4 separate regions of the Homo sapiens genome follow, and all the other regions are linked to region 1. Evidence: promoter capture Hi-C in 16 types of primary human blood cells and fetal thymus (Javierre and others, 2016). All regions are on one chromosome and are shown on one strand. The core of a region is centred on a gene start or on the middle of the fragment in contact, and the rest is flanking DNA. Distances in the headings are between cores, read along the strand shown.

Region 1 (2,934 bases), core at 1-2,500:
TCATTTAAAAAGTATGAAATTAATGTTTGACTTCACAAAGGAGAGAACTTACCATATCCGGAGCCACCCTAAAAACAGAAAGAAAAAAATAGAAAATTACTTTGCCGTTGTAATTACTACCGGTACTTTAAAAAAATTCATTTAATAAAATGGAGTCTTGCTATGTTGCCCAGGCTGGTCTCAAACTCTCGGGCTCAAGTGATCCTCCTGCCTCAGACTCTTTTGTAGTTGGGATTATGAGTGAGCACCACTGCACCCAGCTTCACTATTCAAGTATTTTAATCTCATAAAATCCCTCTTCAGGAAACCAAAGTCCTCCTGTATCCTATTTTCAGTAAGTATCCTCAGGGGAATAAAAAACTTACTGGAGAGCAGGTAAGCATCTTAAATTATCACTGATATACACACGAACAACTATGATACTCAACCTGTGGTTCATAAGCCATCTGCCATTCTGATGGGCTCCATGTATCTATTGCAGAGTCCCAAGTTTCATCAGCACTGAAACCAACCTGTTAGAGATAAAAACATTAACATGAACCCGCATTGTATTTTGTTATAGAGCTGTTTTTAATATGCCTAATTTGCATGTTACATTAAAACAAAAGAGGGTACATATATAGGCAGCAATTTTGTAATCGAGGGGAACAAAGCTCAATAAAGTCGTAATCCTCCAGCAGCAAATAACAGAATTATTTAACTAGTAATCCAAACAAAATTTACTTGTAAGAAAAACTTTTTAATCACTATAACCTTCAACAAAACGTGAACTACATTGTGACAACCCTCACATACCCAACACACTGGTAATAAACCAAAGTTCTTACCATGCCGTCGTAACGGTCTCCAGGTCTCCCTCTTCTGTCATAGGCCATGAGGTCTCTGCAAGCATAGTACTTGTTGTAATCTAAACGTGCTTACATGCCACACATATCAAATCAAAGTCTACCTTGTCTACCACTAAGTGCAGCCTCTTGCAGGTTAATAATTCATAGATGGGGGAAGAAAAAACAACAACAACAAAAAAAACAACTTACCCCCCTCTAGGTGGTGGTGGTGGAGGAAGAGGAAGATTCCGAGCTCTGCTACCACCCCGGCCGCCTCGTCCGGGAGGAGGGGGAGGTGGTCCTCGACGAGGGCTCATATCATCATAATCTCTTCTAGATGGAGGCATGGGACGCCCACCCCGACCAGGAGGCATTCTGTCAAAACCACCTCTTCCCCGCATGGGAAATCCCACTGGGCGTCCGCGACGGTCATCAAACATCATTGTAAAACCACCATAATCATAGGTTTCATCGTAAAAATTGGGATCATAAGGCTGTGCACGTCCTTTGATGGGAGACTAAAAACAGAGATGGAACAAACTTACAGACTGAAGAAAAAGAGTCCTGCTTCATACCAATCCTTCTAACATCATCATCAAACAAAATGTAAGTCATTCCCCCATCAGGAGGTACTAGAGACAGAAACAGGAATTATGTCAACGCTAAAAGTAGCAAAGTAAAGATTCCAAAGAAATCCAATACTTTTGGCAAATGCTAAACAAAAGTGAGTTCTATTGCCTATACAGGGAGAAGTAATAGCTTGCTCTTACACTTAGATCGTAAGAAACCACAAAGCCCTCCCATTTTACACATGACAAACTACAATGCACATTTCACAACAAGGGCTGAAGAGATCAGTCTTGGCAAGCCTGTAATCCATACTGAGGCACCTGAGATAGGAAGCCCTGCAGCATAGTTACAAAGACACAAGCAACACTATAGGAAATTCATTCAAAGGCTCAAAGGCTATAGAAATACCACCAACAAATTACCACTCTCCACTTTTTCAAAACCATTTTTAAATTAAAGTGATGGCTGAAGCCAGGTGATAGAAAATTGCTAGGGAAAGGGCAAATAAAGACTATTAGACTAAATGCTCTGAAGCTACTTTTGCAGAAGGTTATCACTTTGTTTCATAAAATCAAATGTAAACAAAAAGTGTTCTGAAGTACCTCAGATATAAGATCAAGGATGATCTTTATGCACTCTACAACCCTATCGGGTTTTCCTCCAATAAGAACAACTCTGTCAGTGGAATGAGGACAGCATTCCTGGAAAAGCTTGATGGTGGTTTGAGTGTTCTGTAGTAAGATCATAAAAAAAAATAATAATAATTAGAAGAAAATTAGCTTTCCTAGGTTCAGTGAAAATTGCATTTGAATTCAACAATTAACCCCCCACAATATAAAAACTTCATTAATTATCACAGGGCTTTGCAATGGTATAAAAATTTTGACAAAATAACATGTCTAGCAGTGCCAGACATTTTTTGTCATTTGCGATAAGCAATCTTTGGAGGGAACTGAGAGGGGAAGCGAGAGAAGCTCACAGAAACAAGTCTATATGAAAATTTACTTTCCAGCAAAGAATACGGCAGAATTTTTTTTTTTTTACCTCTCGAAGTTCTTTGATTTTAGCACCTTTGACCCCAATAATTCCTCCTGCTAGACTCTGATGAATCAACAGCCTCAACTCGCAGTCAAAGTCACTTCCTTTATAGTGTTGGTACTGTGGAGGGAGAATTATAAAATTTTAGTCTCAAATCAACAATTCCCCAATACACACTTATCTGCTATAAGCATAACAATAATATACTGTTGCAGTGAGCAACCTGAATTTATATTTCAATAACTTTACCAGTTATGTGCTTATTATCCTCAATAGCCAGGCCCAAAAAGGACATTCTGCACCACCTTAAAAAACTATTTTATTTTCAGGTCCTGCAACACCATACCCACACTGCAGCCATTTAGCATGTCGCTGTTACCACAAAATTATTATTAACATTCAAATAACACCATAATAAAAATGACTGCAAAGCACTTTGCAAATGTAGTTAATTCCCACTGCAGCATGGAGCAGGGTCAACAGTGAGTTGTAAGACCAT
Region 2 (5,930 bases), core at 1,644-4,143, 370 kb after region 1:
GCTGTGAAATCCTTTCTTGGAGGTGAGATCATTTCTCTCTTATAACCCATATCACTGACTTTGTGCTCCTGTTTAACCTTTCCCACTGGAGTACTAGCTCCATGAAAACAGCAATTGGTGCTCCCTTCTTTGAGGAACAGTCCAGATGAGAGCCTGTCCAGGTAATCCATAGATATGCATAACCATTGCACCTGCACCAGGTCTTACAGGCACAGGCCTTTTGGGAACCCATATCAGCATTTCAAGCTGTGAAAGTAGTTCTACTTAGTAAAATTAGAACTTTGGTCTACCAAGGGCACTCTTAATATTTGAAGAAGAAAAATGAATTTCTAGCACAATTCACAGACTAGGACAAGGTGAATAAGTAAGCATCCTAACTTATTTGGAAGTCCTGGTGGCATGTTAATGCATATTTAATAATGCGAGTGAAGTAGCACATATTTTACAATCAATTAATTTTCCTTAAAGAAGATAATGTAGCAGGAGAGCTGAATGTCAAACAAGGTAAGACTCATACTTATTAACTTGGCAGGAGTTATGAGGCCTCTGATTCTCTTGAAAGACAAATTGTCTTCACTATTTTGATTTTGAAATGTAGAAATTCAAATTTCAATCAATCCAATGAGTAAGGATGACAGGAAATTTTACAGAACTAGGAGGAAGCTTCCTTTCATTTTTCCTTCTTTTTATTGGGGCAGGTGTAGGGGGATGTTTCCCCCACAAAACAGCAGTTTTGCTAGAAGACAGTGAGGGATCACCACCGTTGTGTGCCCTCCTCCCTGGGAGCAGCCAGTTGCTGTGACATGGACCTTCTCTATTGCAGATATATTTTCTTGCTGCCATACTTCCTCTGACTCTATCCAATTCCATCCTTTCCATTCTCTGGAATCAGAATGGGCCCATGCTTTATGCTTTTCCCCCTCACTTAGCCCTTAGAGAAGAGATCAGGATGTGCCACCCTCCAAATGCCCACATTTTGGCACAAGAATATTTTGAACTGAAGGCTATGAAAAAGAAAGCAGACACAGAAAGAGCTCTCTGCCCTCCCCCATCCCCCATCTTCCTAAAAGCAGCACATTTATTGATATTTCCCTTGCACAGGTGTCCCGCTTGCTCATACAAGGAAGAGAGCAACCCTTATCACCAAAGACAGAGATGCCGCTGAGATAAATCTGCATGAACAAACCTCGATAAATTAACCCTTATCTTCCATTATTTCCACCTCCCACCCCCACTTTATTGTCCCTAAAAGCATAACCCTCTTTTCCTTTGTCTAGTCATTTCACTATTTGCCGTGCTTTGTTTTAATGGTATATAAGCTCCTGAGTCTATTAGGTTTTTCCGTTTCTTTTATGTGAGGCTCTCATACATGTGAGATTTTATTTTATTATTATTATTTTTTTGAGACTGAGTCTCCCTCTGTCAACCAGGCTGGAGTACAGAGGCACGATCTTGGCTCACTGCAGCCTCTGCCTCCCAGATTCAAGTGATTCTCCTGCCTCGGCCTCCCGAGTAGCTGGGACTACAGGCATGTACCACCATGCCCGGCTGATTTTTGTATTTTTAGTAGAGATGGGGTTTCACTATGTTGGCCAGGCTGGTCTCAAATTCCTGACCTCAAATGATCAGCCCGCCTCAGCCTCCCAAAGTGCTAGGATTACAGGCATGAGGCACCACTGCCAGCCACATGTGAGATTTTAAATATGAATAAAATTTGCGTGCCTTTTCTCCTGCTAATCTGTTTTATGTTGGTTTAATTTGCAGGCCTCAGGCACTCAACCTAAGAGGGTAGATGAAGTTGTTTCCTCTCCTACACTTGTGACCTATAAGTGGTAACCCGATGCCTACTCATGGAGATGGGCATCACTGTGACCATGGGACAGATGATCAAACTTGGGCTCTGGGAAGTTACAGGAATTTGTGGGTGCTGGAGTCTGAACTCCTGTCAAAGCCCTTTTACCTCCCTCTTTCCTTTCTTGGCTAGCACCTCAAAGTTTTGTTTTGCCCATCTAGCAGACCGTAAAGTCCAAGGGATTGTTGACACTTGCCGGTGCAGGCTTCCCATCTTCTCCAGAGCGCCCATGCTGAGTGTCAGCTAAGGAAAGGAAGCACACCTAAAAACAGCCCTGGAAATCCCCATCCCAGACCCAGTCAAAATAGCCTGGTGTTTCTGACAGGTCTCCTTCTATGTCTCTGCGGGCACCCAGCCTCGGGCTGAGCAGCATTAATCACTCAGTGAGTTTTGGTTGATGAAGTGAGACTGATTTGCGTAATCCAGCTGCTCTGGGGCAGGTACCGGGGCCATCTGACAGGGGCTCCAGGACTTGGCTTGAGTAAAAGGAACCCTGAGACACTACCCCAGCCAGGATCTAAATTCCCCCATTTTTCCCTTCTCACCAGTTCTTTGGAAAAGTGCCTGAAGATAAATAATGGACCCCTGCTGTGAGCCAGAAGGGAAAAAAGGCAAGAGAAGAAGGCTGTCTTGTTTCTAAGTGACCATAGGGATCACAACACATCGATTAAAAGAGACTTTTCAGGTTTGTCAACCCAGAAGAGCCCAAGAAGAAAAAATAATGGGCTTAAAGTGTGCCGTTAAAAATCGTATTGTCCTGATAATCTCCCTGCTTAGGTAAGAAACTTGCCAAGGGGCTAAGGAAAGGGCAGCTTTTCCACTGAAGGCCTTTAACATAAGAGGAAAGCTCTGCTCACCTGGAAGCCCACGTTGCTGTAGCCCTCAGCTCTGGGGGCTGCTGTACTCCTCAGCTCCATGCTCTTTTTGCTGCTGGCTGGCTCTGGTCTGGAGGTCCTTTGTACCTGGGAAAAAGCACCAGTCTCTGCTGATGTCAGAAAGCCACCTGCTGTTACAGGGACCTGGGCACAGCTTGCTTCAGTTTGGAAACTTCTGCAATAATCTCCTGAATGACTAGGGCTGACACCTGGTTGGGGTGGGGCAGAGAGGCGGGCGGGTTGGCGGGGTGGAGGCATCTAGTGCTGGCCCGCCCACCTTATTAATCTTTTCCTTTATCCCCATTTTTGGCATCCTATTTGCACTCCTGGGGAGAAAACTCTTGTGGTGCACAAAACAGAAAAGGACACTTTCTTTTTCTTTCTTTCTTTCTTTTTTTTTTTGAGATGGAGTCTCAAAAAAAAAAAGGCTGGAGTGCAGTGACGCAATCTCGGTTCACTGCAACCTCTGCCTCCCAGGTTCAAGCAATTCTCCTGCCTCAGCCTCTCAAGTAGCTGGGATTACAGGTGCATGCCACCACACCTGGCTGACTTTATTTTTAGTAGAGACGGGGTTTCACCATGTTGGCCAGGCTGTTCTTGAACTCCTGACCTCAAGTGATCCACCTGCCTTGGCCTCCTAAATTGCTGGGATTACAGGCATGAGCCACCGTGCCCAGCCAGAAAAGGACACGTTCTCTATAGTGCTTAGTGAAATCCTCTGTTTTCCTGTGGGTGGTGTTAAAGACTAGGAGTGGTGGTGGGGTGGAGGGTGAGTGAACACAGGATATAAGGTCATGCCGCCCTCAGTGATCACCTACTGTATACCAGGGATGGATAGATGGATAGATACATAGACAGATAGGTAGGTAGGTAAGGGTCTTGGCTCTTCTTCCGAACAACTCAAAATTCTATACTGAAGTACAGAAAAGTTAACAATTTGTTTAGTGTCATTTAGCTAATAAAGGGATAATGAGAATTCAAATTCAAGTTTGGTTAATTCCAAAACCTTTTATTACATCCCTGCTTCAGACTGGGCTGCTTTCAAAAATCCAGCTTACAGAAATGCCGATATGTGACAAGTAAATGAAAGGTGACCAGCTATTCAATTATCAAAAGTGAATAGAAGTGCTTTGTTTTCATAAAGCAATTCACTTTGCTTTATGAAAATATTAGCTGTAGAATTCTTTTAAAATAGGGATTTTCCCCCCTAGTACAATTTAAAATACTGCAAAACTGTGGACAAAAGAATGGAAAAGGCCTGGTGCGGTGGCTCACGCCTGTAATCCCAGCACTTTGGGAGCCCAAGGCGGGTGGATCACTTTAGGCCAGGAGTTCAAGACCAGCCTGGCCAACATGGCGAAACTCCATCTCTACTAAAAATACAAAAATTAGCCAGGAGTGATAACGTGCGCCTGTAGTCCCAGCTACTCGGGAGGCTGAGGCGGGAGAATCGCTTGAACCCAGGAGACACAGATTGCAGTGAGCCGAAAACGCACCGCTGCCTCCCATCTGGATGACAGAGTGAGACCCTGTCTCAAAAAAAAAAAAAAAAAGAAAAGAAAAAGAAAAAGAAAAAGTAAGAAAATACCAAGTATTATGAGTGGTTATTTCTCGGTTTTTAATTTTATGGGCAGTTGGTGTTTTTTTTTTCTCCTTCAAATGCTGCTGAGTTTTCTATAAAGAGAATGATTTACTTTTATTATTGTTAACCTAAAGGAAAAAACGGAGACAAACTTAATGTAAGTATAGAGTTTATTTGGTCTAAGTTTGAGATTGCAACTTGGGAGCACATATTCAAGTTGCTCTGAATATACACTTAGTAGCAGTTACAAGTAGATTCTTGTGTGTGTGTGTGTGTGTTCTGTTGCCCAGGCTGGAGTGCATGATCATGGCTTGCTGCAACCTTGACCTCCTGGGCTGAAGCTATCCTCCTGTCTCAGCCTCCCGAGTAGCTGGGACTACAGACAGGTGCCATCACCCATGGCTAAATTTTTTTTTTTTTTTTGGTAGAACTGGGGGCCTCACTATGTTGCCCAGACTTGTCTTGAACTCCTGGGCTCAAGCAATCTTCCCACCTGCCTTGGTTTCCAAAAGTGCTGGGATTACAGGCACTGTGCCTGGCCACAAGTGAATTTTAAAGGAAAAGAAGGAGTTTCTGAGTTGTTTACCAATTATTTACATTAAAATAACATAAGCTATTGATTGGCTATACATTGCTATTTGTATCACACATTCTAGGAACAGAAAGGCAGCCAGTCAGGAACAAAATTCCTTTAAAACAATTGCCCCTGGCCAGGCACAGTGGCTCCCGCCTATAATCCCAGCACTTTGGGAGGCCGAGGCAGATGGATCATGAAGTCAGGAATTCGAGACCAGCCTGGCCAACATGGTGAAACCCTGTCTCTTCTAAATACTACAAAAATTAGCCAGGCATGGTGGCACATGCCTGTAGTCCCAGCTACTTGGGAGGCTGTGGCAGGAGAATTGCTTGAACCCAGGAGGTGGAGGTTGTGGTGAGTCGAGTGGAGGTTGTGGTGAGTCGAGATCACGCCACCGCACTCCAGACTGGGTGACAGAGCAAGACTCCATCTCAAAAAAAAAACAAAAGACAAAAAACAAAAGCAAAAAAAAATTGCCCCCGGGCACAGGGTTGAGTGGTGACTGAAGTCCAACCCTCCGTTTCTCTGGGCCTGATAGATTTTGCATTGCTCACATAGCTGGGACTGTGTGAGTTATTTTTGTTTTCTCTTTATCAGTGACTGAGGCCCAGTCTCTCTGGGCCTGATAGATTTTGCATATCTCACATAGCTCAGACTGTGGGAGTTATTTTTCTTTTCTTGTTATCATGATACAGACTGTACAGTGTATACATAATGATTAAAGGCTTGCAGGAACCTGTGGTCTGGGTTCAAATCCTGGACTCTACCTCATAACTACAGCCAACCACAGCTTGAGGGTCACACCTAACCTTCTGCTGCTTTTATATGGCCCAAGAGCTAAGAATGGGTTTTAGATTTTTAAATGGTTGAAAAAAATTAAAAGGAAGAATATTTCCTGACACATTAAAGTTATATGAAATTCAAACTTCAGTGTCTATAAATAAAGTTTTGTAAAAACAGAAACATGGCCATTGATTTATGTATTGTCTAAGGCTGCTATCATCCCATAAGGACAGAATTGAGTAGCTGTGACAAATACCACAC
Region 3 (5,930 bases), core at 2,365-4,864, 340 kb after region 1:
ACATTGATCATCTTAAAGCTTCATTAATTTTTCTGGAAGGGGTGTTGGGTAGGGAGGGTAGATGGATGGGTGGTGACAATCTCTAATAAATTATAATAAGTGTTAAAAATCAAATGGGAGGCCTGGTGCCATGGCTCATGCTTGTAATCCCAACACTTTGGGAGGTCGAGGTGGGTGGATCATTTGAGGTCAGGAGTTCGAGACCAGCCTGGCCAACATGGTGAAACCCAGCCTCTACTAAAAATACAAAAATTAGCCAGGCGTGGTGGCATGCGCCTGTAGTCCCAGCTACTCGGGAGGCTCAAATGGGAGAATCGCTTGAACTTGGGAGGCGGAGGTTGCAATGAGCCGAGATCACATCACTGCACTCCAGCCTGGGTGACAAAGTGAGACTCTTATCTCAAAAAAAAAAAAAAAAAAAAAAAAAGAAATCAAATGGGGATAAAACAAAGTAATAAAACCAAACGGGAGGTAGGCTTGGTTATTTCCCTGTTTTAAAGACTGTACCCTTTTTGTTGCATCTCCTCATCATCATCCTCCATGTGTTCTCTGTTTCTTGGAGAATCCTGCTCAACTGTGACCTGTTCTTCATCCTGGAAATCAAACATTGGAGCAGAGATGGAATAATGAGCATCCTGGGCATAATGGACCCTGGTTTCATTGCTCAGAACTCGGGCAAAGAACTTTCAATAGGTCCTTTTAAATTATTATGCAAGAAGATGGCTCCTATTATCTACTGCACAGACATTTTTTTTCCCGGCTTATAATCTCACACAAAAAATGCCAGGTTCATACTGAACTCTTCCTTTCCTTCCAAAGGAGCTGTTGGTATTTTCTCCTTTTCTTAAGGGAACAGGCTCATATTTGTGCTTTTTGCTCCTGTCTCTCTTGTAATCAACCAACCCCATCTCTGTTTTCAGCCAAGTACTAAATGAAGTTAATACCAGGAGCTGCATAAATCTCCCCTAGTACTCTGCCAGCCCCGGTTTCCAAATGACTGAGACCAAAGCTGGATTTATTTCCCCGGCAGCCCAAGGCTTGGTCTGTGAATATGAACACTAGCTTGGCACCTTCAAGAGCCAATAAGCCTCCCCTTGGGAACTAGGATCCTTTTATCAGTTGGGCTAAAGGGGACTATTTCCCTTACTCAGCTAGCCCTTGCTCTAATTAATTGAGTGTAGGATATCTCTGACCCATCCCATTTTTTCATGGACAATCTTTCTAGGTACAGTTTGAGCTCTCAAATATCCATGACCCATCCTATTTCCAGGATGGCAGAGGATTTCCTACCTGTCTCCAGTCTCCAATAATGTCTCAAATAATAAGCCTGGCTCTTGTAACCAATGGTACAGAAGCTGGTGGGGGAGGAAATAGATGGAGGTGGAGCAGTTTGAGTGTGCTCTAAGAAGTATAATGTCAAATCTCAGCACTTGTCTTCTGTCATATCCAATGTGGCCTTTGATTCTCTTTAACAGAAATCATAGAAATAAATCATTAGTGTGTGTCTGAGATGAAAGAATTCTCAAAAATCCTATAATTCCACGAGGCCAAACTCCATTGTTCTTCTGATTCAGATTACCTTCATTTTCTGGGCTGGACCCTAGGAACAAGGAAGGTGTGAGGATAATTGTAAGAGAGACCAGCTGAGTCCAAGCTGCAGCTTCTGAGGAAGGGCTGGAGTTGAGTCTTATTTATTTATTTCTATCTAATTCCCAGCTTAGCCAATAGTCAATGTTTGGTAAATATTTGATTTAAATGGTCATCATTATTATTTTCTTGCAGTGAAAGTACCCCAAGTTACCTGCTATCTATGGTATATCTAACATTACTATTGTTGGCTCTTATTTTTCCATCTTTTCTCATGTTTTAAAAACAACAACTACAAATCTCCCTTGACTCCCACAATCATGGGACATCTGCACCGCTCTTTCCTTTCACAGCCAGGCCGCTGGAGAGAGTTGTGTTTACTCTTTGGAGGTCACTTCCTCACACCCTGCCCACTTCTCTACCCACTGTGATTGTGCTTCTGCTGAATGCATCCTGCCAATGTCACCCAAGGCCCATTGCTATCAAATCCAGTAGCTACTCCTCAGCCTTCATATCCTCATTTATAATTGAAAAATATCTAAATTTTTGTTTTTATGAAAAAAATATTTTAAAAATATTTTTAAAAGAGCAGTTTTAAGTTCACAGCAAAATGGAGCTGAAACTATAGAGATTTTTCATGTATTGTCTACCCACCCTCACCTTCCCCACTATCAAATGAACCCAGAGAAGTACATTTGTTACAACTGAGGAGCCTACATGGACACATCACCATCACCCAAAGTCTGCAGTGAGACTCTCTTGGTCTTGTACATTCTATGGGTTTGGACGCATGTATGATGGCATGTATCCACCATTGTAGTATCAGGCATACTAGTTTCATGGCCCTAAAAATCTTCTTATGGCCAGGCGTGGTCACTCATGCCTGTAATCCCAGCACTTTGGGAGGCCAAGGCAGGCGGATCACAAGGTCAGGAGATCAAGACCATCCTGGCCAACATGGTGAAACCCCGTCTCTACTAAAAATACAAAAAAAAAAATTAGCTGGGCACAGTGACGGGTGCCGGTAATCCCAACTACACGGGAGGCTGAGGCAGGAGAATCACCTGAACCCGGGAGGTGGAGACTGCAGTGAGCTGAGATTGTGCCACTGCACTCCAGCCTGCTGACAGAGCGAGATTCCATCTCAAAAAAACAAAAAACCCCACACTTCTTATTTGTCCCTACCACCCCCTGATGCCTTGAAAGCACTATTTACTGTCTCCATAGTTTTGCATTTTCCAGAATGTCGTATAGTTGGGATCGCACAATAGGTAGCCATTTTAGATTGGCTTCTTTTACCCAGTAATGTACATTTAAGGCTCCTTCATGTCTTTTCATGGCTTGATAGTTCATTTCTTTTTAGCGCTGAAAGACACTGCATGTCTGAATGTACCACAGTTTATTTATTCATTCACCTACTGAAGGACATTTTGGTTACTTCCAAGTGTTGGCAATTACAAATAAAGCTGCTCTAAACATCCATGTGTAGGTTTTTATGTGGACATAAGTATTGTTTTCTTTTTTGTTTGTTGAAGAATACTTAGTGAACATTTTTTACAATCAATTAAGCAAAATAGACAGTTACCAAACACTGTACTATGCATGGTATGATTCCAATACAGATGACATATGCATGTGGGTGTATGTTTGCATTAAAAAAGGCTGTGTTCCAAAATGTTAGGCACTGACTTTTTTTCTTGAATTATAAGCCTTTTTTGGTTTTCCAAATTTTGCTACAATAAGTTTTCCAAATTGTCTACTTTAAAAAAAAGTGATTCTTTTACCACGAGAAAACTCCTCACAAAATGACACACTAGTGGGCACCCCAAATTCCTTTTTTTTTTTTTTTTTTGAGAATCTCGCTCTGTCGCCCAGGCTGGAGTACAGTGGTGCCATCTCGGCTCACTGCAACCTCTACCTCCTGGGTTCAAGTGATTCTCCTGCCTCAGCCTCCAGAGTAGCTGGGATTACAGGCACACGCCACCACGCCCAGCTAATTTTTGTATTTTTAGTAGAGATGGGTTTTCACCATGTTGGCCAGGCTGGTCTTGAACTCCTGACCTCAAGTGATCCGCCCACCTCAGCCTCCCAAAGTGCTGGGATTACAGGCATAAGCCACCGTGCCCGGCCCTGAATTACCTTTTAAGGGGTGACCTACATGGGTAATTTGTTCACCTTTTTGGCAACAGGAAGCCATCTTTAAATAAACTCCTGTCCAGAATTCAACATGTAAGTGAAATTAAGCAAGAGTCCCTCGGACTGGTATAAAGCTACTAAGGAATGCGAGTGCATGATGGACCCAGATTCAGAACCATAGTAGAGGGTTCCTCTTGTTTCTGTCATTTACGTTAAAGCTCAGATGCTTTTGTCTAAGCCAATGCCTTTTTCCTTGAGATGGAGCTTGGAACTCCTAATAGTGAAGTGATGCTTCCCATCAGGGAACTCTGAGGACAGGTGGATAAAAACAAAATCTCTTTGTTTGGGCGTGTGTGTTTTCTTTACGACTATGCCCCCACACACTTTAATTACCACTTAATCTGTTCCTCTGCGTGCCAGTGGGGCGCCATGCTTTCTGTGCCCACTGTTCTCAGGTGCCTGTTGCGCAGCGGCTGCCATGGTACTAGAGTCATGCACCACAGTCTTGCTGTACCTGTTTGGTGTTTGTGTGCTCCCTGCTTTGCACAGCTCTGCTTCTTATTGAGTTGTTTCCTGATGTGTTCTCGTTCTCAAGAAAGTTTTCTTCATTCTAAGAAAAAAGTGCAGATTGAAAAAATAAAAAGTTACAGCCAAAAGACAGATGTTCTTTCATGAAAAATACCTAGAGGAATTTGGAGGATGAGACAAACAAAGATTAGGTGTTCAGATGAAGCATCCGATTCAACAAACAGCTGACAAATCCTGGGCTTGTAAAGAAACAGATGATCGGCTGGGCACAGTGGTTCGTACCTGTAATCCCAGCATGATGGGAGGCCGAAGTGGGAGGGGAGACCAGCCTGGGCAAAATCCTGTGTCTACTAAAAATATAAAAATTAGCTGGGCGTGGTGTTGTGCACCTATAATCCCAGCTACTTGGGAGGCTGAGGTAGGAGAATTGCTTGAGCCCCAGAGGCAGATCATGCCACTGCACTCCAGCCTGGGAGACACAGCAAGACTCTACCTGAAAAAAAAAAAAAAGAAAAGAAAAGAAAGTAAAGAAAAGAAACATATGACTTTTGCTTTGTTTTGTTCTGATACAAAAGTGGTCCAGGGGAAGAGAGGAATGAGGACAATTGCCCTCATCTCGGCCTGATAACTTTCCAATAGGCAGAGCTGGGACCAGGGGCAGGTTTCCACTCTCCTTTCTATCACATCACACTGATTTTCAACTTATAAAATGAACTAAAACGTGGTAAACCATAGGCTGAATAGCCTTATTCTTAGATGTTAGATTTACGAAATGTTGAAATGGGTTTTTTTTGGTTTAAAGCAATCTCTGGCAGTAATGGTCATAAGAAAAATGCCCTTTTTTGTGTGTGTGTGAGGCTGTCTTGATTTTACTTTAAGGAACTGAACGAGATTTGCTCTTATAGGGCCGTCCGGACCCCTCAGCTGCTGTTTCCAGAAGTGACAAACACTGGACCTGTCTCCTGTCTCTTTTATCTTTTTTGAGGTATCTAATATTTCTCCCATCTCATTTCAACTTGCCGTTTTCTAGAGTGAGGTAATGGATAAATGGTGTCAGGAAATGCCTTCTGTTAGCCCAACGACTATGACTGCATCTTCAAAGACCAAGTGTATGACTCTAATTTTAACTTAGATCTCTGACTGGCCCCAGGAATCCAGCAAATATTGCAATTCCAAGTTGTATTGCATTTTCTACTTACTGAAACACAAGAATGAATAAACATGAAAAAAAAGTTACAGTACAAGATTCATGCATCAAAGTATTGTGCCATACTTCCTTTTTTGTTACAGTTGCTTATATCCTACAGTTCTTTGCATATAGCAGACACTAACAATGTTTTGAATTAATGACCCACAGTAATTTTAATGTTGCATTAGCACAGCAATGTAGTACCCTTGGGTTCTTGGTATAAAAATACAGCATGGGCTGGGTGTGGTGGCTGACGCCCGTAATCCCAGCACTTTGGGAGGCCAAGGTGGGCGGATCACGAGGTCAGGAGATTGAGACCATCCTGGCTAACATGGTGAAACCCCGTCTCTACTAAAAATACAAACATTAGCTGGGCGTGGTGGCAGGTGCTTGTAATCCCAACTACTTGGGAGGCTGAGGCAGGAGAATTGCTTGAACCTGGGAGGCAGAGGTTGCAGTGAGCTGAGATCACACCACTCTGCACTCCAGC
Region 4 (5,930 bases), core at 1,254-3,753, 320 kb after region 1:
CCCAGCTAATTTTGTGTTTTTAGTAGAGACGGGGTTTCTCCGTGTTGGTCAGGCTGGTCTCAAACTCCCGACCTCAGGTGATCTGCCCGCCTTGGCCTCCCAAGGTGTTGGGATTACAGGCGTGAGCCACTGCGCCCAGCCGTAAGCATAGTCTTTAGAGTAGAGGCCCGTGCTTCTTGTTGGCTTACCAACAAGAAGTTTCAGCCTGCCAGGAGCAGTTGTAAGCCTGGGATTTGGGGCTATGTGTTTTTCTGAGTGACTTGATTTTTGCTTCAAATTCAGTTTCCTTGGGCAGTGGTGCTGGCAAGCGTTCATACCTGGTTTTCGTGGCGTGTGACTCCATTCTGCCTGAAGCTGCATATCTGGAGTGATGAGGGGCTTATTACAATTTCTTACTGATCCACCCCTTAGCCATGCTGCTATTTTGAGGGACACTCCTTGGCATGATATTTATTTGCTTAAATGGGCTTCAGGCAAAAGAGCGTTTCTCCATGTGATGGAACAGGGAGGTGAAAATTGAAGTCTAAAAGCTTATTTTTGATGAGAAGAGAAAAACCTAAAAGCATTTTTCTTCAGGCTCAGCAAAGACAGAATATTGGCCAGTTCAGACAAGTTGAGAATAAGCTCAAGTATTTACGCAGTTGCATGGTTGTTGGTGGAAAGGCTTTCTTGGTCTCCTCCATTGCCACAGGCATTATAGTTTAGAATGGGAGGCTGTTTGTAGCTTGGAGATTTCGAGATAGTGAAATCCATTCAAGTGGAAGAGCTACCAGCCTCTGAAGAGTTGACCAGAAACCTCACAATCACTAAATTCAGATTTATTGAGAATCTATATGAGAAGCTCTATGTCTATGCCTTAATAAAATGACAACCTTCCATCCTCTTCATAAACATTCTCAAGAACCCAATTCTACATACCATACCCAGACTGTTAAAAGGAATTTCTCTCTGTGTCTCTCTGTCTCTCTGTCTCTCTCTCTGTCTCTCTCTCTCTCTCTCTCTGTCTCTCTCTCTTCTCCCCCTGGAATCCGGACATTGCCAATACTGGGGGTTTCTTATTTTGACACCATTTTCTCTACACTAAAAGAACATTGTGTTATTTTCTTATTTGGCTTTTTGGAAAGAGACGATCCATTTCAACAGATGTTTTGTTCTGTTGATATTACAACTTACTTGTCCAACAAATATATTGCCAGAAGCAACTACAGATTCAATAGGAGATGATCCCGTAGTAACTAGCATGATCCATCCAACCTAAAAGGAAGAAAGGGACAAAGTCAGCAAAGAACTTTTTGTATACCCAAAACTTCAAAGTAGGGATTAAAATCCTTAAACTGGTGTAAAATATTGAGGGCTTCAACATTTGTCAGCAAGCTAATGATGGAGCTAAAGGTAAGTTTAACTTATTGAGCCCCTAGAGCAGGCCAAGCAAATCCTCTTATTGGAGTAGTAAGTCTGAGTCATTGCGTATACTTTGAACATTATACAAATCAATTTCTATAGGTCTATTGTATACAAGTAATAAATGACAATTGCTAACATGCTTATGGAAGGCTTTACTGCATTCCAGGCACTGTGTTAAGCCCTTGACAGTCCAGAAAATGCAATTAATTCTTACAATAACTCTTTGAGAGAGGTCCTATGTAATTATACTCATTTTATTAAAGAGGAAACCAAAGCACAGAACAGTTTAGTTGTTTTGTCAAAGGTCACCCATATGTAGCAGGATGTATTTGAGGTTTGGTCTTTTTTACTTAATTGAAATGAACGTGGTTTTTGGTTCCACTTTTGTACTGGCCTTTCAACTAGAGATGGTGGATGAGGACTTCCTGTTGCATTCTCTCTCCTTGCTTTTTAGTTTAGACAAGAGCATAACAATTCTGAATGTTTTGGGGTTTAAACAGGAAATTATGGGCCCTGGAGTTCTTGCTGTCATTCTGAACTCTGCTACTACCTGTATTCTGGTTCCCTCTCTCTCTTCTCTTCCTTTTTGTACATTTTGATTTATTTATTGGGATCAAGGAGGGCTGGGGCTGTGCCCCAAGCACTGCCTGCACTGCTCTGTGCTCGTGTGTGGTGCATCCAAATTAGCTGACGGAGCTCCTTGTCCTCTGATCTAACACATGAACATAGGACTCATTGAGGCTAGGGCAGCAGGAAGGACATGAACTCTTCAGCTGTGTGTGTGTATGTGTGTGTGTATGCATGCACGCTCATGCTTATGAAACTCCCTCAGGAGTGAAAAGCTGTTTCTCCTTTTTGCTTCAATTTCTCTAGCACCTCCAAAACCAGAAGTGTCTACTTTTGTAACCTCCTTAAGCAAGGTAGCATACAATTAAGGAGTAGCTTAAAAAAGAAAAAAAGATAAGCACAGGGCGGTTAACCAAGATGAAGGAATAACATCATTTCCCCCAGCAGTATCTGACCTCAATTCCTCCGCTAAAGAAGTAACTGCTATAGTTTCATGAAGATATCCAGTGCTTTGCAAATCAAAACCCTATTAGAAGCTCCTGAGATAAAATTCCCTCCATGGACACATTTAGGATTGGAGGTTTTGAATCTAATCACTTAGGTGGTGATGGTGGATAATGGTAGGAAGAGAAAGGCACTTCGTAAATACCTGCATAAAAGGCCTTGAGGACTTCGTGCCTGAGATAATCAGCTCTACACCTATAACCCAGTCCCTCCCAGCCCCAGTACCTTTCTAATAATCCACTGCATCAGTCCCAGGTAGTACAGCATGGACATCACAGTGCTGAAGAAAACCACGATCGGCAGGACCTGTGGGGACAGAAACAAACATGGATTAATGATGGGTCCAGCTGCACCAGCAGGTTTTATATCAGGCCTCCTCTCTGTCTCCTTTTCTCCCTCTGAAACATCATAAAAATATGGGAAACTCCTCTTGAACTTTAATCAGGCAGCTTCCCTATCTACAGTCTTTTATTCTAATTTGTCACAGGACTTTGACTTTTTTCCCCTGTCTTCTATGGTGAGCTTTTTTTGCTCAAAGAAGGAATGAAGTTTGGGGGGATTTGTAATACCTAGATCAATACACTGAAGGCTGTCAGAAAATATTCTTGTCCTGGTGCTAAAAAGACATGGGCTTCACCACTAGTTAGCAGAGTAACCTAAGTTGAGATAAATTGTGAGCAACCTCAGAGCCTTATTCTGAGTAGCTGTAGAGATCAGGTAAGGCATGGTAGGTGCTGACACATAGTGCCTCCTACTGGATGGCAGACACACCTGACAGCAATAACTTCAGCATGTCCTGAGAATGACCCTATGGTCTAAGCGTGTGTGTTTGGAGTTCCAAACTAAGGAACCTGGGAGCGGCCATTCCAAAGATTCATTCCTTATCTATAAGGAATATCTGAACCCTTGGCCCATTCCGTGGAAAGCAGGCCATATGGGGGATCCAGGCCCTTTGTTTTGGGTTAAATGAAGGTTGGGAGGTGGAGGTTGCTGGGGGAGGTTACTAAGTGAGAATGCTATATAAACTGCCTGCCTTTTACAAACAGTAGCGGTTCTCCTCTCTAGCCTGCTGCCACTGGACTGCCCTGCATGTGAGTCCCCCTCAATAAACCCTATGTCTCATTTGCTGGCTCCAGGTCTTTTCTTTGGCCGCTCAAACATGGTGCCCCCCCTACTGAAGTCAATAGGGGTCTGTCATGACCTTATGCAGTAAACATTCATTCTTCTAGCTTTTAAAATAATAGTGATTTTACCTATAGATTTTCAAATTACTAAAAAGTGACTGCATTTTGGAAGCTACTTTAGTTCTGTGTTAAAGGCCATTGTATTTTCCAGCTGGGCTCGGTGGCTCACACCTGTAATCCCAGCACTTTGGGATGCTGAGGCGGGCGGATCACCTGAGGTCAGGAGTTTGAGACCAGCCTGGCCAACATGGCGAAACCCTGTCTCTACTAAAAATACAAAAATTAGCCAGGCGTGGTGGCACACTCATGTAATCCCAACTACTGGGGAGGCTGAGGCAGGAGGATTGCTTGAACCTGGGAGGCAGAAGTTGCAGAGCCGAGATTGTGCCATTGCACTCCAGCCTGGATGGCAGAGCAAGAGTCCATCTCACAAAAACAAACAAACAAACAAACAAAACAAACAAACAAAAAACCATTGCATTTTCCTAGATCCTATTTTCCTGATGCTCTTTGGGTGCCTTCAGTGCAGCCAATGTTTCCACAGAGAGCAGTTTCTACCCTGCATAGACCACAAAGAGCTGTGGGCTGGGTCCCTCCTCAGCCTCATCCTACTGTACCCCCTCCCTACTGTTCCCCGGCTAACTGGCCAGAGAAAGCTGCTACCAGAGGCACAGAATGACCGAGGACAATTTGTACAGGATCTAATTTAGAAAAAAATCCATTAATAATATATATTAAAAGACATTTTGTGCCAGTATTCAGAGCTCACTCACGATGAGCCTTTTATTGGCTTTAATGGGTAGGCAGTGCCTTCCTGAAAGCTTGAGGGAGTTAAAGAGGCTCATCTCTGGAATGTTAGCAGAGGATTCTGCATTGGCAGGAAAGAATAGGGGCCACTGCCCTGGAAGAGGGGAGGGGGAAGGCCTGAAAACACCTGTATAGTCTGGGTAGCAAGTTATTCCTTCTTTATGACTTTATTTTTTCCAATTCTGAATTCGTTTCATGATATGAGTATATTTCTATCTCACTCTATAAACATTTGGCCTTTCAGAGATGGCTGAGTTATCTCAGCCCTAAAACATCAAACCAGCTAAACTGCCAGGTAGAGGTTGCTGGGGGAGGGTGCTAAGTGAAATGCTGTATAAACTGCAGGCTTCTTACAAACAGCAGAGGTTCTCTTCTCCAGCCTGCCACTAAACTGCTGGTTTAACGTTTTAGGCTGAATCTTTTTTCAGCCTAAAAGTTGGCCTAACTGAAGCTGGGGTAATTTGGAGGTAAATTTGGAGTCTCTAAGTGAGAAAACAATTTAGAAGTGTATGAATAACAACACACCACAAAAAAAGAAAGCTGAAGGAAAACCCGAATGCATGTTTCTGACTCATTGACAAGTGTTTGTAGGGACTTCCCAGAGGAGGATGGGCTTCCTGGGGCATGTGGGAGCCTCAAGAAGGAACTGACTGTGGCCAGCCATGGGGCCAAGCTGCCTTTCCCCTGTAAAATAATGTTCCTTCTTTAGTTAGGAGAAGGCCTATCCCCTAGTCCTGCCTAGGCAAAGGCTATGCTGAAGGAGAGATGAGAAACGTTTAGCACGGGGATGGCTCTAAAACAGAGGTTGATGTGGTTGACCGGCTGCCCCAAGGACTGGGACTGAGGGGCTTTCGAATACAGAGCTGTCACTGATCCTGGACCCATCAGCCATTCACTGCCACATGCCTACTTGTTGCTGGGAACATAATATTCTTTTCCCTGAAGGCCGAAGGTGCTATTACCCTTTTGATTTTTCCTAAGTATCTCAGATAAAGCTACAAGCCCCATTCCCTAGTATTTGAATAGTTCTGACTTCCTCTAGATGTTTCCCTTAACTCCATAGTAACAAGGTAAAATGCGTGCAGTCCACTAACTTCAGATAACATTGTCAGTGGAAAAGAGCAGTGATGTATTGCACACCTCTGACCAGCGCAGTAGGTATATACCTGGTTTTTGGTCAGTTAAGTTCTATCTGAACATCTACAAAGACAGAAGCCGCTGAAATAGCAGCGACTACATAGAAAAAAGGTTTGACTTTACCTTAAATGCAAAGAAGTGGTCTTTGTATTTCTCACCAAAGACAAATGAAGCACCAGCATCTGTGTACTCCAGAAAAGTCTGAGTTAAAGAAAGAAAAAGAGATTTCATTCCAACCACATGACTGGAAATTAGACAGTGCACAGGAATGCTAGGCTCTCAGAGGACGGACCCAGCAAATGTGTTGGATAGACTTGGAAAGTTAAT

What was found. The method cuts DNA at HindIII sites, captures the fragments that hold promoters and counts their contacts. A CHiCAGO score of 5 or more calls a contact.
Region 2: a contact is called between the fragment with the promoter of SLC28A3 here and the fragment with the promoter of HNRNPK-AS1 in region 1, in 1 of 17 cell types (M2 macrophages). The highest score is 6.6, in M2 macrophages.
Region 3: a fragment that was not itself captured here is called in contact with the fragment with the promoter of HNRNPK-AS1 in region 1 in 2 of 17 cell types (naive B cells and M2 macrophages); the score reaches 7.8 in naive B cells.
Region 4: a fragment that was not itself captured here is called in contact with the fragment with the promoter of HNRNPK-AS1 in region 1 in 1 of 17 cell types (M0 macrophages); the score reaches 5.7 in M0 macrophages.

What each region holds. Positions count from the first base shown.
Region 1 is chr9:83,970,845-83,973,778 of GRCh38, forward strand. It overlaps HNRNPK-AS1 (HNRNPK antisense RNA 1), which reads left to right and starts at 1,251. Exons shown (of 2, transcript NR_186535.1): 1 at 1,251-1,433. It overlaps HNRNPK (heterogeneous nuclear ribonucleoprotein K), which reads right to left. Exons shown (of 17, transcript NM_031263.4): 9 at 2,442-2,555; 10 at 2,000-2,128; 11 at 1,038-1,345; 12 at 828-882; 13 at 429-512; 14 at 53-68. The HindIII fragment of the contact is 2,844 bases long and covers 1-2,105 here.
Region 2 is chr9:84,337,865-84,343,794 of GRCh38, forward strand. It overlaps SLC28A3 (solute carrier family 28 member 3), which reads right to left and starts at 2,894. Exons shown (of 18, transcript NM_001199633.2): 1 at 2,710-2,894. The coding sequence starts at 2,769. The HindIII fragment of the contact is 9,909 bases long and covers 662-5,930 here.
Region 3 is chr9:84,309,122-84,315,051 of GRCh38, forward strand. SLC28A3 (solute carrier family 28 member 3) reads right to left here. Exons shown (of 18, transcript NM_001199633.2): 2 at 4,238-4,333; 3 at 508-593. Among named protein-coding and RNA genes, the nearest start is that of SLC28A3, 29 kb to the right of the region's middle. The HindIII fragment of the contact is 7,197 bases long and covers 17-5,930 here.
Region 4 is chr9:84,291,495-84,297,424 of GRCh38, forward strand. It overlaps SLC28A3 (solute carrier family 28 member 3), which reads right to left. Exons shown (of 18, transcript NM_001199633.2): 8 at 5,727-5,804; 9 at 2,701-2,781; 10 at 1,174-1,254. Among named protein-coding and RNA genes, the nearest start is that of SLC28A3-AS1, 16 kb to the left of the region's middle. RefSeq lists enhancers at 1,901-1,960, 2,351-2,430, 4,608-5,137. The HindIII fragment of the contact is 3,950 bases long and covers 529-4,478 here.